2 separate regions of the Homo sapiens genome follow, and region 2 is linked to region 1. Evidence: promoter capture Hi-C in 16 types of primary human blood cells and fetal thymus (Javierre and others, 2016). All regions are on one chromosome and are shown on one strand. The core of a region is centred on a gene start or on the middle of the fragment in contact, and the rest is flanking DNA. Distances in the headings are between cores, read along the strand shown. Region 1 holds the start of ZSCAN32 (zinc finger and SCAN domain containing 32). Region 2 overlaps ZNF75A (zinc finger protein 75A).

Region 1 (5,665 bases), core at 1,794-4,293:
GGTGAGGGGCTGTTAAAAGTCCTTCTTACCTAATACATTGTTCTGCCAAAGGCTTTCCTGGTAAGGAGATCCCAGTAGTAGTAGGGGTCTAAGAGGACCACCCCACCTTCATTCCCTAACAAGTTCTATTTTCCGAAGTACCTGCCGTTTGCTTCTTGCCTAGGTCCTGACTGGGGTCTGACTTCGGGGCGGGGAGTGGCAAGCAATGGCAACGCTGGCCAGTTGAACTGTAACTTCCTGATCCAAAGACAATAAGCTAGTCAGGCATTGTGTGGCTCACTCCTGTAATCCCAGCACTTTGGGAGGTCAAGACGGGCGGATCGCCTGGGCCCAAGAAGAGTTCAAGACCAGCCTGGGCAATGTGGAGAAACCCTGTCTCTACAAAAGTACAAAAATTAGCCACGCATGGTGGCATGTACCTGCAGTCCCAGCTACTTGAGAGGCTGAGGTGTGAGGAACACTTGAGCTGGACATGGAGGTTGCAGCGAGCTGAGATCGTGCCACTGCCCTCCAGCCTCAGCAACACAGTGAGACCCAGTCTCAAAAAAAAAAAAAAAAATCAAAGACAAAAAGCTAGGCCAGGTGTGGTGGCTCACGCCTGTAATCCCAGCACTTTGAGAGGCCAAGGCGGGAGGATCACTTGAGGTCAGGAGTTCGAGACTAGCCTGGCCAACATAGTGAAACCCCCTCTCTACTAAAAAGTACAAAAATTAGCTGGGCGTGGTGGCAGGCACCTGTAAACCCAGCTACTCAGGAGGCTGAGACCTGAGAATCGCTTGAACCTGGGGTGCAGAGGTTGCAGTGGGCTGAAATGGCACCACTGCACTCCAGCTTGGGAAACACAGCAAGACTCCATCTCAAAAAAAAAAAAAAAAAAAAAAAAAAAAAAAAAAAAAGACTATAAGCTAAACACTGGAAAGACAATAAGCTAGAACTTCCAATGAAATGAAGTTCCCCAAAGTCCAACTGCTACCCAACAGGGTGACCCTATCTGCTAAGAATTCTGCTAGTAGGAAAACTAAGTTGGGTGGGGGAAGAGCTGACAGAAGGGATTTAAGAACCTTACAATTACTTCTGGTGACACAAGGTGCATAAAGGAATGGTAAGAACCTTGGTCCTCTGTTGCCTCACTGGGTATCAGTAGTTGGATTTTCTAAAAACCTGTTAATAACTCAGGATAGGTTCCCAGATAGAGGCTGGAAGCAACTTCTGAAGCCATCCAGTCCACTTCTGAGACTTAAATAGGGAGAGATCCAGATACCAAACATTACCCAGATGAAAAAGAAATCGGCCGGGCACGGTGGCTCACACCTGTAGTCCCAGCACTTTGGGAGGCCGAGGCGGGCGGATCACGAGGTCAGGAGATCGAGACCATCCTGGCTAACACGGTGAAACCCTGTCTCTACTAAAAATACAAAAAATTAGCCGGGCGCGGTGGCGGGCGCCTGTAGTCCCAGCTACTCGGGAGGCTGAGGCAGGAGAATGGCGTGAACCCGGGAGGCGGAGCTTGCAGTGAGCCGAGATAGCGCCACTGCACTCGGGCCTGGGCGAAAGAGCAAGATTCCGTCTCAAAAAAAGAAAAAAAAAAAAAAAGAAAAGAAAAAGAAATCCCCAGGATGATGGGAGAGGACCCTCCTTACCCACTGCTTTGGTTTCTTGGATGCTCTGTGAAAATCTTCCACGAGGGTCACAATCTCCTTGCTGCTCATTGGACATCGATGCCTGACCCGAGCCTGGATCTCCGGGGGCAGGATGGTCAGGAACTGCTCCATCACCAGAAGCTCCAAAATCTGCTCCTTGGTGTGCAGCTCGGGTTGCAACCACTGACGGCAGAGCTGTCGGAGCTGGGAGAGAGCCTCTTGGGGTCCAGACACCTCTTGATAACAAAAGCGTCTGAAGCTCTGGCGGCAGAGCTCAGGATCTGGGCAGTTTTTTTGCAGAGGAGGGCCCCGTTTCTCTTCTAGTTTGGCTATTATGTGTCTCTCTTGCTTGGAGGAAGCTTCAGTGTTGGAGCTTAAAGTTATCTCCATTTTAGCTGCCATTTTGGGCGTCAGGAGACAACTCTCTCCTTGTAAACGGGTTAAGCCTTTGGGATCATGACCCTGGAGAAGTCTCTGAATACTAGAAAGATTCTAGAAACGAAGGTTCTCTGAGGATGTTAGGGGGAACGGGATGCAGAGACAAAGCCTCACTTGCTAGCCTTTACTAGCCAAACTCAAGACAACGCGGTCCCTGGGAGTGGGAAGAGTTTTGTCTTCTTGTCAGTTTTTTGCAGTCTTGCAAAGGAGAAAAGTCATAACGTCCTAAAAGGACTCTGGGGAAAAAATACTTCTTTTATTTCAGTAGCAAGCACACAGGTCTCGGATTTAATGAGCAATACGCTCTAACCGGCGGGTGGAGCGGAATCCCTAGGAAAAGTTCAAGCTGTCGCAGGTAGCTTGCCCCAACTCTCCCGCATCCTGGCGGAAACCGACCGGGTGCATGTCGCCGGGTGCTAAACGGTAGAGCTAAGCGAGGCCACAGCGCCAGCCGGGGGTGTGAGGTAGCGAACAGCCTCCTGCACGCGAGCAAAGCGGCTGCTCGCTGCCGAGGCGCCGCAGGCCCAGTGGCTCCGGCCTCCAGGGCGGCCCCGCGGCCCAGCCAGCCCCAGGCCTGGCGAAGCTGCCGCAACCCGATGCGCAGCTGAACTCCACGCCCGGTGTGAGCTCGGACTGGCGACTGCGACACCGGTACCCCGAACAGCCCGGCGCCCCGCACCCACCTGCAGCCGACTCACCTCTCCGGGAACCCAAGACCGAGGGACTTAGGACCCGACACCGGCGAGCACGGGCTGGGGGCGGGGCCGATGCCACTCGCTGCGGAGACGCCCACTAGCTGCTGAGGACAACTACTGACAGGGCCCGCCTCCTGCCAAGGGCATTCTCTACCGTCTATTGGTTGCTGCGCCTGTCAATACCGTCGCAGTGCATCCCGGGAGCTGCAGTCCGGCAATTCGGCTTGCGGGCCTGCGCAGGGGCGTGCGTAATGGGCGGAGCGAATCGCGCCGCTGACTTCCGGCCCGGAGGCTGAGGGAGTTTGTGGAGTCGCGAGTGCTGGTGTCCGGTGAGTTCTCCGCTTCCTTGCGGCCGGCGGGATTAGCCGCTGGGCCCTGCGACGGCCGAGGAGCCCCTCCCCGCTGGGAGTCTTCTCCGAGGCGTTCGGGTCCGGCCCCGATGGGCGTCTCCTTGGGACAGGCAGCCTCCCTCAGGCCGGGCGTCCCCAGACGCGCCGCGATCACCGTGCCCCGCTCCCACCGTGCGGATCACCCCGAGCCTGAGCGCCGGCGCCCCGGGACCCCCTGGCCTTGACCCTGCTCATCTCGTCCCTGTCTCGCCCACTCCCTACTCATCCACAGTGCCTAGCCCTGGCACCGAGTGCGTTCTGAGTACTCAATAAATAGTTAACTAAGTGAAAAACCTATCAACCTGGCTCCCCATCCTCATGCTACATTTTTTTCCGAGTGTTTGGGCCATCGCTAGAGTGAAGTAAAATTTTCAGAGAACAGCATTTTAAAATTTAACGATGAGTGGGAGGTAAGGGGTCAAAAGGGGTCAAGAAGGGTGCAGGTTCCGCCTTCTGCATGAAGTTAGAAGAGCTTTTATTAAATTCTTCTTCAGCCAGGTAAGGCACAGGATGAACATAATGAAGGCAAGGGGTGCTGGTTCTAGTCCTGGCCTTGCTGCCTAGGAGCTGTGCTGTGTGATGCTTTAGGCAAGATACTTCATCGCTCTCAGTTTCTTTTTGGCTAGAAAGCAGTGCTAACAATAATAATGCCCTTGATTTCTCTATCTCTAGAAGCACTGAAATGTAAAGAGAATTTAAGTGAAGGCAGTTCAAGTTCCTTGAGAAAAGGGAACCCAAATCCATTTTTAAAATATAAAAAAATTTCTTTAATTTTTAAAAAACATTTACCATCATAACCATTTTTAAGTGTACAGCTCAGTAGTCCTGAGTATATTCATCTTGTTGTGCATGCTGGATCCATTTTAATACCACATGGTGAGGGTGTATCAGCCCCTGGAGAAAATGTAAATTACGATCTGCTTTAATCTGTGTTTTAAGTAGATAAAAACCAACACAAACTCATTAAAAAAGACTGCCTTCGCGGGTGCAGTGGCTCACACCTGTAATCCCAGCACTTTGGGAGGCCAAGGTGGGAGGATCACTTGAGCACAGGAGTTTGAGACCAGCCTGGGCAACATAGTGAAACTCCACCTCTACAAAAAATACAAAAGTTAGCTTCTATTTAAAATTATTTTTAAGGTCGGGCATGGTGGCTTATACTTGTAATCCTAACACTTTGGGAGGTTGAGGTGGGAGGATTGCTTGAGTTCAGGAGTTTGAGACCAGCCTGGGCAACAGAGTGAGACTCCATCTCTAAAGATAAAAAAACAAATAAAATTATTTTTAAAAGTTATTTATTAATTTTAAATTATATAAAACTATTTTTAAAATTAACTCTTAAAAAAATATTGCCTTACATAAACTGGCCTTGGAGATCCAAACATGTTGTCAAGACTTGAGTATATTGTCCTCTTGTAAACAGGCTCACTCCTGTGATGGAAGAGTGGAGTAGAGAGTGGGACATAGTTGGAGACAACTCTGATCTTACATTTGCCCAATTTACCAATTCCTAGAAAATGAAGAGCTTTCCCTACCTCTCATGTAAAATCTGAGAAAAGAATTTTGATAGGCCTAGCTGTGTGTCATATGCCCACTTCTGGGGAAGTGGGTATTGTAATTAATATCCCCACCAGAACCAATGAGAGGGACTTTTTCTTTTTTTGAGACAGTCTCGCTCTTGTTGCCCAGGCTGGAGTGCAATGGCGTGATCACAGCTCACTGCAACCTCCGCCTCCCGGGTTCAAGCGATTCTCCTGCCTCAGCCTCCCGAGTAGCTGCGACTACAGGTGCGTGCCACCATGCCCAGCTAATTTTTTTGTATTTTTAGTAGAGACGGAGTTTCATCTTGTTAGCCAGGATGGTCTAGATCTCCTGACCACGTGATCCGCCCGCCTTGGCCTCTCAAAGTGCTGGGATTGCAAGCGTGAGCCACCACGCCTGGTCGAGGGGGACTTTTTCACAAAGGAAGAAGATGCTGCTACTAGAAGTGGGAAAGGAATGCTGGAAAATAAAAACATACAGCAAACCCGAACAGTCACTTATCCACGTTGTGTGTGTGTGGAGTAATAGTAATGAAGAAGTTAATCAAGAAGCACACACACACCAGTTCTCCCCCGAGGAGAGGGTAGCAATTGGGAACATGAATTCAGGCTTCTTGAGGATAGGGAAGGACAGGAAAAAGACCTAGGTGTGTGAGGGAAGAAGGGAAGGAACAGGTGAACTATATCGTCAGGAACAGTTTGAGTAATTCGTCAGCAGACACAGAATCTTGGCTGGGAGAAGACTATATTTTTTGGTACTGTAACTGCCCAGTGGGTTCATCTTGCCCACTGCCTAGATAAAGCCAGTTTGTCAAGACAGGGGAACTGCAATAGAGAAAGAGTTTAATACGCACAGAACCGGCTAAATGGGAGACTAAAGTTTTATTACTCAAGTCAGCCTCCCCGGAAATTCAGAGGCTAGGGCTTTGGCACGCAGTTGGGTAGGGAACAGGGAATGCTGA
Region 2 (6,294 bases), core at 1,236-3,735, 80 kb after region 1:
AACCTCGTGCCTTGGAATTGCCAGATAAACATTCCTTGGCCTTTGTTGTATGCAGCAAAAGGATTGTTGGCGTGAGTCTACTGGTGCAGACAGCCATTGCAAGACTTCATCTTAAGAAAATTTTTAGTGGTGTCTTTGTAAAAGTCACCCCCCAGAACCTAAAAATGCTGCGTATAGTGGAACCTTATGTGATCTGGGGATTTCCAAATCTGAAGTCTGTCCGGGAATTCATTCTGAAACATGGACAAGCCAAGGTCAATAAGAACACCATCCCTCTGACAGACAACACAGTGATTGAGGAGCACCTGGGGAAGTTTGGTGTCATTTGCTTGGAAGACCTCATTCATGAAATTGCCTCCCAGTGAAGCATTTCCAGGAGATCTCATGGTTCTTTTGCCCTTTCCACCTCTCAGTGGTCCATCATGCTACCAAAAATACAGTGGGCTTCCTCAAGGAGATGGGCACATCTGGCTATTGGGGTGAATGCATCAATCAGCTCATCTGCCAGCTGAACTAGACCCAGGTGCCAAACTGCAGTAAATTTTTATCAATGAAGTGGAAGCATGTGTTTTTGTTTTTTTGAGATTTTTTTTATCAAGTATCTTCAAAGACTATTTCCTGCTTTATCTTCAAAAACTGGAAAGGAAGGGTTAAAAAAAAAGACAGTAGCTTAGGTTCATGGCAAGTACCTCTCATCACAGTCCAGTTCCAAGGAAAAATTCCAGCATTTTCTACATTGGCTGCCTCCTTGTCGGCGGAAGTAGTCCTGCTTTGTTGAATCTTCTATCCTAGGGTTTAATGTTGGTGAATGAGTAACTCTAGCATTTGTACAAGGCTTCCTAAGACTCCGGGAGCAGTCGACCAAGCCCAGGGACATAATTGAATCTGGAGATTCCTGGGTCCTTGTTTTGAAAAAGACTTGAAATACACATAGGAAGAAAGGCCCAAAAATAAATGTTAACTTGTCAAAAAAAAAAATTTCAACAGTAAGCTTTCTTAGTTTCTCCTAAAAGGTGCATCATATCCAAACACTGTAAAGCTTGATTTTTAATGTCAGCGCTAAGATTGGTGCAACTCAAGATTCATTATCTGAACTGTGGCAGAAATGAAAAGTGATTCAGATAGTTTTCTTAAATCTGAAATGCAATGCAAAAGGTAGCTTGCTTAATTCCTTTCACAGGAGGGATTCAGACTAGGCGAACTGCTTTAGGCAAAGTACACGCATTATCAGATTTGGGTGAATCGTACAGGAGAAAAGCCTTACAGACGCTCGACTGAAGAAGGCATTTCAGTACAGCCCAACTACCATTGCCCAGTGGAGGATTAATACATGAAGGAAACCTAGGCATGTAGCAAATTTGGTTGATGTTTCAAACAGTGCCCTCATCTCGGTCCCCAGTGAACCCACACAAGAAAAAGTGACAGGTGTAGAAAAGATTCAGAAACAAAAGTATGCTTTTTGTTTGGGTGGATTTCTACTGGGACAAACAGTAGAAACGTGAAGTATGGGCAAAACTTTGTTTCCCACTTGAGGGGACTTCAGAGAGTCTACATAGGAGAGAATTCAGTCCACAGAGAATGTGGGGAGAGCTTCAGCAAGTATTTATGCACTAGAAAACCTCCAAGAGAAGAGTAACAGGGCAGCCTTCATCACACATGACAGGGAGGAGTGACCAGGAAATGCTGGAGTAAATGCTTCAGTGGCATGACTCAACAAATATTTGGAAAATCCTTTATGAACTCCCATCTTTTGTTACCAATTGTCCATTTGGATAAAAGAGGCTGCTGGGCGTTCTTCCTCAAACTTACCTGGGAAATTAAACACTGTTCTCAGTAGTTCCAAAAGTTAACAGAAACCCTAGGAGTTTTAGTTTTGAGATTTACTTTGATTCTAAGCCCCTCCTGTTCTTCCCCTCCAGTTAAAAGATATCTGAGGTTGGGCATGGTGGCTCATGCCTGTAATCTCAGTACTTTGGGAGGCCAATGCAGGAGGATCACTTGAGCTTAGGAGTTCAAGATCAGCCTGGGCAACATAGCAAGACCTCATCTCTACTAAAAGTAAAAAAATAATAACCCAGGCATGGTGGCACGTGCCTGGAGTCCCAGATACTCAGAAGGCTGAGGTGGGAGGATTGCTTGAGACTGGGAGATCGAGGCTGTGGTGAGCCCCAGCCTGGGCAACAGAGACCCTTGTCTCAAAAATAAAATATATCTGAGGTTCTCAAGGTGAGCTCAAGGTCCAGTCTGCTTAACGGCAGGGAGAACTCTAGGTCTGGGATGGTCCCAGCACTGAACTTAGACTAGTGCAGGGGACAGGTCAGGAGACTAGACGGGGTCAATGATACAGTTCTCTGAAATAACCGTGAAGCCACGGTAAGGCTGCTATCTGAACATGCTAAAATAAAGCATCCTTCTTGTTTCCTGGAAATCATCTGCCGGTTTATGGAGGACATATTTGTGCATTTAGTACTAATTAGTGCATTTAGTACTAATGTTTAAGGCTAAACCTAGGATTATGTGTCTCTCATTTCATTTTTAAAGCAAGCCTCAATAGATTTTAATATCATGGTTTAAGTAATTTGTTCTCATATCATCTGATATCATTTTAGTAATCCAATCTCATCTCAAGCTACAGAAATCCCTTCTTCCACTCCCCACCCCACAAATTCCAAGGTTGTTATGAGACATCATGTTATGTGCAGCAGCTGGGTACTGGCTAAGCTACGACTTTCCCCCTGGAGGATTCTCACTCCACAGGTGGAACTGTCTTGCTCCTGCCTCCCTGCCCAAGTTTCTCCCCAGTTGTCCGTCATCCCTTAGTCCAGGAAGATAGCCACCTTACTGTCTACACTGATCTGGACAAATTTGCTTTTGCCCTATATCTCATCTGTTTTCTGAGGCACAACTCACTGAAGATACAACAGAGGTAGTTAACAAACCATTCTTTGAAATCTCCTGCATGCATATGAGGAAGGCAATCCCTACCCCCTAACCCCCACCATAGCCCATTCATCAATAGCAATGCCTGTTTTGTGCATGAGGCAACGCGCAGGGAGACAAAGAATAAGGGAAGTGGAATAAGGCCAGATAGGGAAGGAGGGTTGCCTTGTCCCCTTGAACTGACCTCCCATAAGATTTGTCCAAGACAGCAATGTCTTTCTTCCCTATCATCTACAGTCTTGGGAGGTCTTAAGTGGTCCCATTAGTGTTGCATCAGCTCAGTTTAGTATCCACGGGAAGCCAGGTCTCTTTTGAGGGCCAAAGGCTAGGCAGAATGAAAATGGAAAGGTCCAGAGCTCCAGCAAAACAGTCACTCCCCCAGCTGCCCTTTTCCAAGCTCTATTAAGATAGGCCAGGTTGGCCAGGTGCGGTGGCTCACGCCTGTAATCCCGGCACTTTGGGAGGCCGAGGCGGGTGGATCACGAGGTCAGGAGACCAAGACCATCCTGGCTAACAAGGTGAAACCCCATCTCTACTAAAAATACAAAAATTAGCCAGGCGTGGTGGCGGGTACCTGTAGTCCCAGCAACTTGGGAGGCTGAGGCAGGAGAATGGCATGAACCCAGGAGGCGGAGCTTGCAGTGAGCTGACATTGCGCCACTGCACTCCAGCCTGGGCAACAGAGCGAGACTCCGTCTCAAGAAAAAAAAAAAAGATAGGGCAGGTTATGCTACAGAAACACATAGCACCAATGTCTCAGTGATTTAACAGAACAAATGTTTATTTCTTGTTCTCACAAAGTTCACTATAGGTCTGGAGACTCTTGGGAATAGCCGCCCTCCATGCAGTGGCTCAGTGTTCTGGACTGCTTTGATTTCATGGCTGCTCTCTCTGTATGTGGTTCCATGATTAAGGCAGGAAAGGAGAGCACTGGCCTTGTACCAGCAAAAAAATAAAAAAAAAAATAAAAAAAAAAAAATGAAAAGCTTCAGCCAGAGGCTCACAATGCTCACAACTCATTGACCAAAACTATCTCATACCCGTCTTAGAGCAAGGAGCAGGAAAGCAAAACCATTCTTCTTACTGTTCACTGGAATACAAGTTCCATGAGGGGATGCAATTTTGTCTCTTGGCCACTCCTGTGTCCTCAGAGTATAGGACAGTGCCTGACACATCATAGGCCTTCATTAAATTGAACAGAATGAATGAATGTAGGGCCAGAAAGAAAGCCACACATGATCTGGGAGAAGAAACAGAATCCTGGAGGTCTTAAGTTAAGGTGGTGCTGGGTAAGAGCTATGTAGACCAGAGCTCCAGAGTTGGCTGTACTTAAGAAACAATTAGTATAGGCTGGGCACAGTGGCTCATGCATGTAATCCCAGCACTTTGGGAGGCCGAGGCGGGTGGATCACTTGAGGTCAGGAGTTCGAGACCAGCCTGCTCAACATGGTGAAACCCCGTCTCTACTAAAAATACAAAAAATTAGCCAGGCGTGGTGGTGGGTGCCTGTAATCCCAGCTACTCTGGAGGCTGAGGCAGAAGAATTGCTTGAATCTGGGAGGTGGAGGATGCAATGAGCTGAGATCACACCATTGCACTCCAGCCTGAGTGACAAGAGCGAAACTCTGTCTCAAAAAAAATAAAATAAGAGGTTTGGAAGAGGTCAGTTATTTAACCCCTTTCCTGATATACCTAAGAGCTCTAAAAGGAATGCACCTGAGTCACTGCTGTAGCTAAACAAGCAAGTTGTAAGAAAATCCATAGGCTATACAGACTTTTGGCAATCCATCAAATTTATCACCTGAGGCTGCTGTTAAATGCTGTGCTGGAAAGAACAAAGACAGGTAGAGCTTACAGGACAGGACAGAACAACATGGATGTAGATTTGCTCATCCTCGCCCAACACTTAGCACCAGTGCCCAAATCTTTTATTTAGGGAACCGTCTCCTGCTGACTACATGTCCAGGTCTCCATGCCAAATGAGCCACAGGATCCTGCCTGCAGCACACACACTCCAACTCCCATGGAAATTAAGTCTCTCATTCTTAACAACAAAGAAAAGCCAATTAAAAAGTAAACAAACAAAACTGAGAAGTTGATCTTAATTCCCACTAATTCTCTTTCAGGCCTTGGGCAAGTACTAATTTTTATAGCTGCTTTATCCTACTGACATTGCAAGGCAGGGATTAACAAGTCTAGTTTCTTTTATTGCAGAAAATTCTTTACATCTAATATATATTCCATGGCTACAAATTCCAACCCGTTTCCCCCATGATTCCATTAGAGATGTCTTCTATTTTCCAAACATCACCAATGAGAGGCATAAGACAGTGCATTAATAGTTCATCTGGAGATTCCCTAGTGGTGGTTAACAAGATTTCATCACAGTAAAAAACTGTGATAACAGGATCCAAGAGAAGTTGCCGAAAAGTTTAAGAAGGAACTCAAGTGATGTCCAACTTTGCAAACCGTGTCCAATGACAAAAGAAAGAAAATCCAATTTGGTTCCTGGAACACTTTACATTGTAATTCATTTCGGCCTCATGAGACTATGGAAATTGGTAAGCCTGCTACTGTGAAGAGAATGGTATGCAATTAAACATGCATGTTACTGCTTTTTGTTTTGGAAGACCATGCTGCCAATGTTTCTATTGGATGTGTTCAAAAATGACTGGAGAGATCAATACAAAGCCAACAATGTTTACTTCTGTGACCACAGAAGACTACTGAGTGGCTGCAGAGCAAGTCTTGATTATTTTCTGTGAAATGTATGTTTATCCCATTTTCTGATGTAAAATTTTTCAAGGTTTGTGATTTTTCTTTTACATAAATTTTAGTGCCAAGCTCCATTTGGTGAATGTCTTCAGAATGAGGACACTGGACAAGCTTCTCTTCACAGGTGGAGTTTCTGGTGTCTAAGAAGGCTTGACCGCCTGCTGAAGTTTCTCCTGCATATGCTACAAGTATATGGCTGCTCACCTGTGTGGGTTCTCCGGTGTTTAATAAGGTGGGAGTTCTGACTGAATTTTTTTCCACATTCATGACATGTGAAGGGCTTTTCTCCTGTATGAGTTCTTTGGTGTGTATGTAAATTTGTATTTTGACTGAAGCTTTTCCCACACCATGAACATTTATATGGTTTTATTCCTTGGTGTGTTGTTAAGTGCTTATTAAGATCTGAACTCCATCTAAACCTCTTATCACACTGTTGACATTTATAGGGTTTCTCTTCAGTGTGAATTCTTTGGTGCTTAATAAGGTCAGAGCTAACTCTGAAGGTTTTCCCACATTCCTGACATTTAAAAGGCTTCTCTCTTGCACAATCTTTCTTGTGACGATCCATAAGTTTGAGCA

The links. The method cuts DNA at HindIII sites, captures the fragments that hold promoters and counts their contacts. A CHiCAGO score of 5 or more calls a contact.
Region 2: a contact is called between a fragment that was not itself captured here and the fragment with the promoter of ZSCAN32 in region 1, in 5 of 17 cell types (erythroblasts, M1 macrophages, M2 macrophages and 2 more). The highest score is 8.0, in erythroblasts.

Annotation. Positions count from the first base shown.
Region 1 is chr16:3,398,382-3,404,046 of GRCh38, reverse strand. ZSCAN32 (zinc finger and SCAN domain containing 32) reads left to right here and starts at 3,043. Exons shown (of 7, transcript NM_001284527.2): 1 at 3,043-3,102. It overlaps ZNF174 (zinc finger protein 174), which reads right to left and starts at 2,832. Exons shown (of 3, transcript NM_003450.3): 1 at 1,641-2,832. The coding sequence starts at 2,042. It overlaps LOC105371059 (a long non-coding RNA gene), which reads right to left. Exons shown (of 4, transcript XR_007064949.1): 3 at 4,521-5,665; 4 at 4,378-4,416. RefSeq lists silencers at 2,486-2,705, 3,256-3,405 and an enhancer at 2,783-3,282. The HindIII fragment of the contact is 4,650 bases long and covers 2,002-5,665 here.
Region 2 is chr16:3,317,409-3,323,702 of GRCh38, reverse strand. ZNF75A (zinc finger protein 75A) reads right to left here. Exons shown (of 7, transcript NM_001302109.2): 7 at 4,852-6,294. The coding sequence ends at 5,834. It also overlaps a transcript of OR2C1 not described here and the pseudogene RPL7L1P19. Among named protein-coding and RNA genes, the nearest start is that of ZNF75A, 15 kb to the right of the region's middle. The HindIII fragment of the contact is 2,887 bases long and covers 1,042-3,928 here.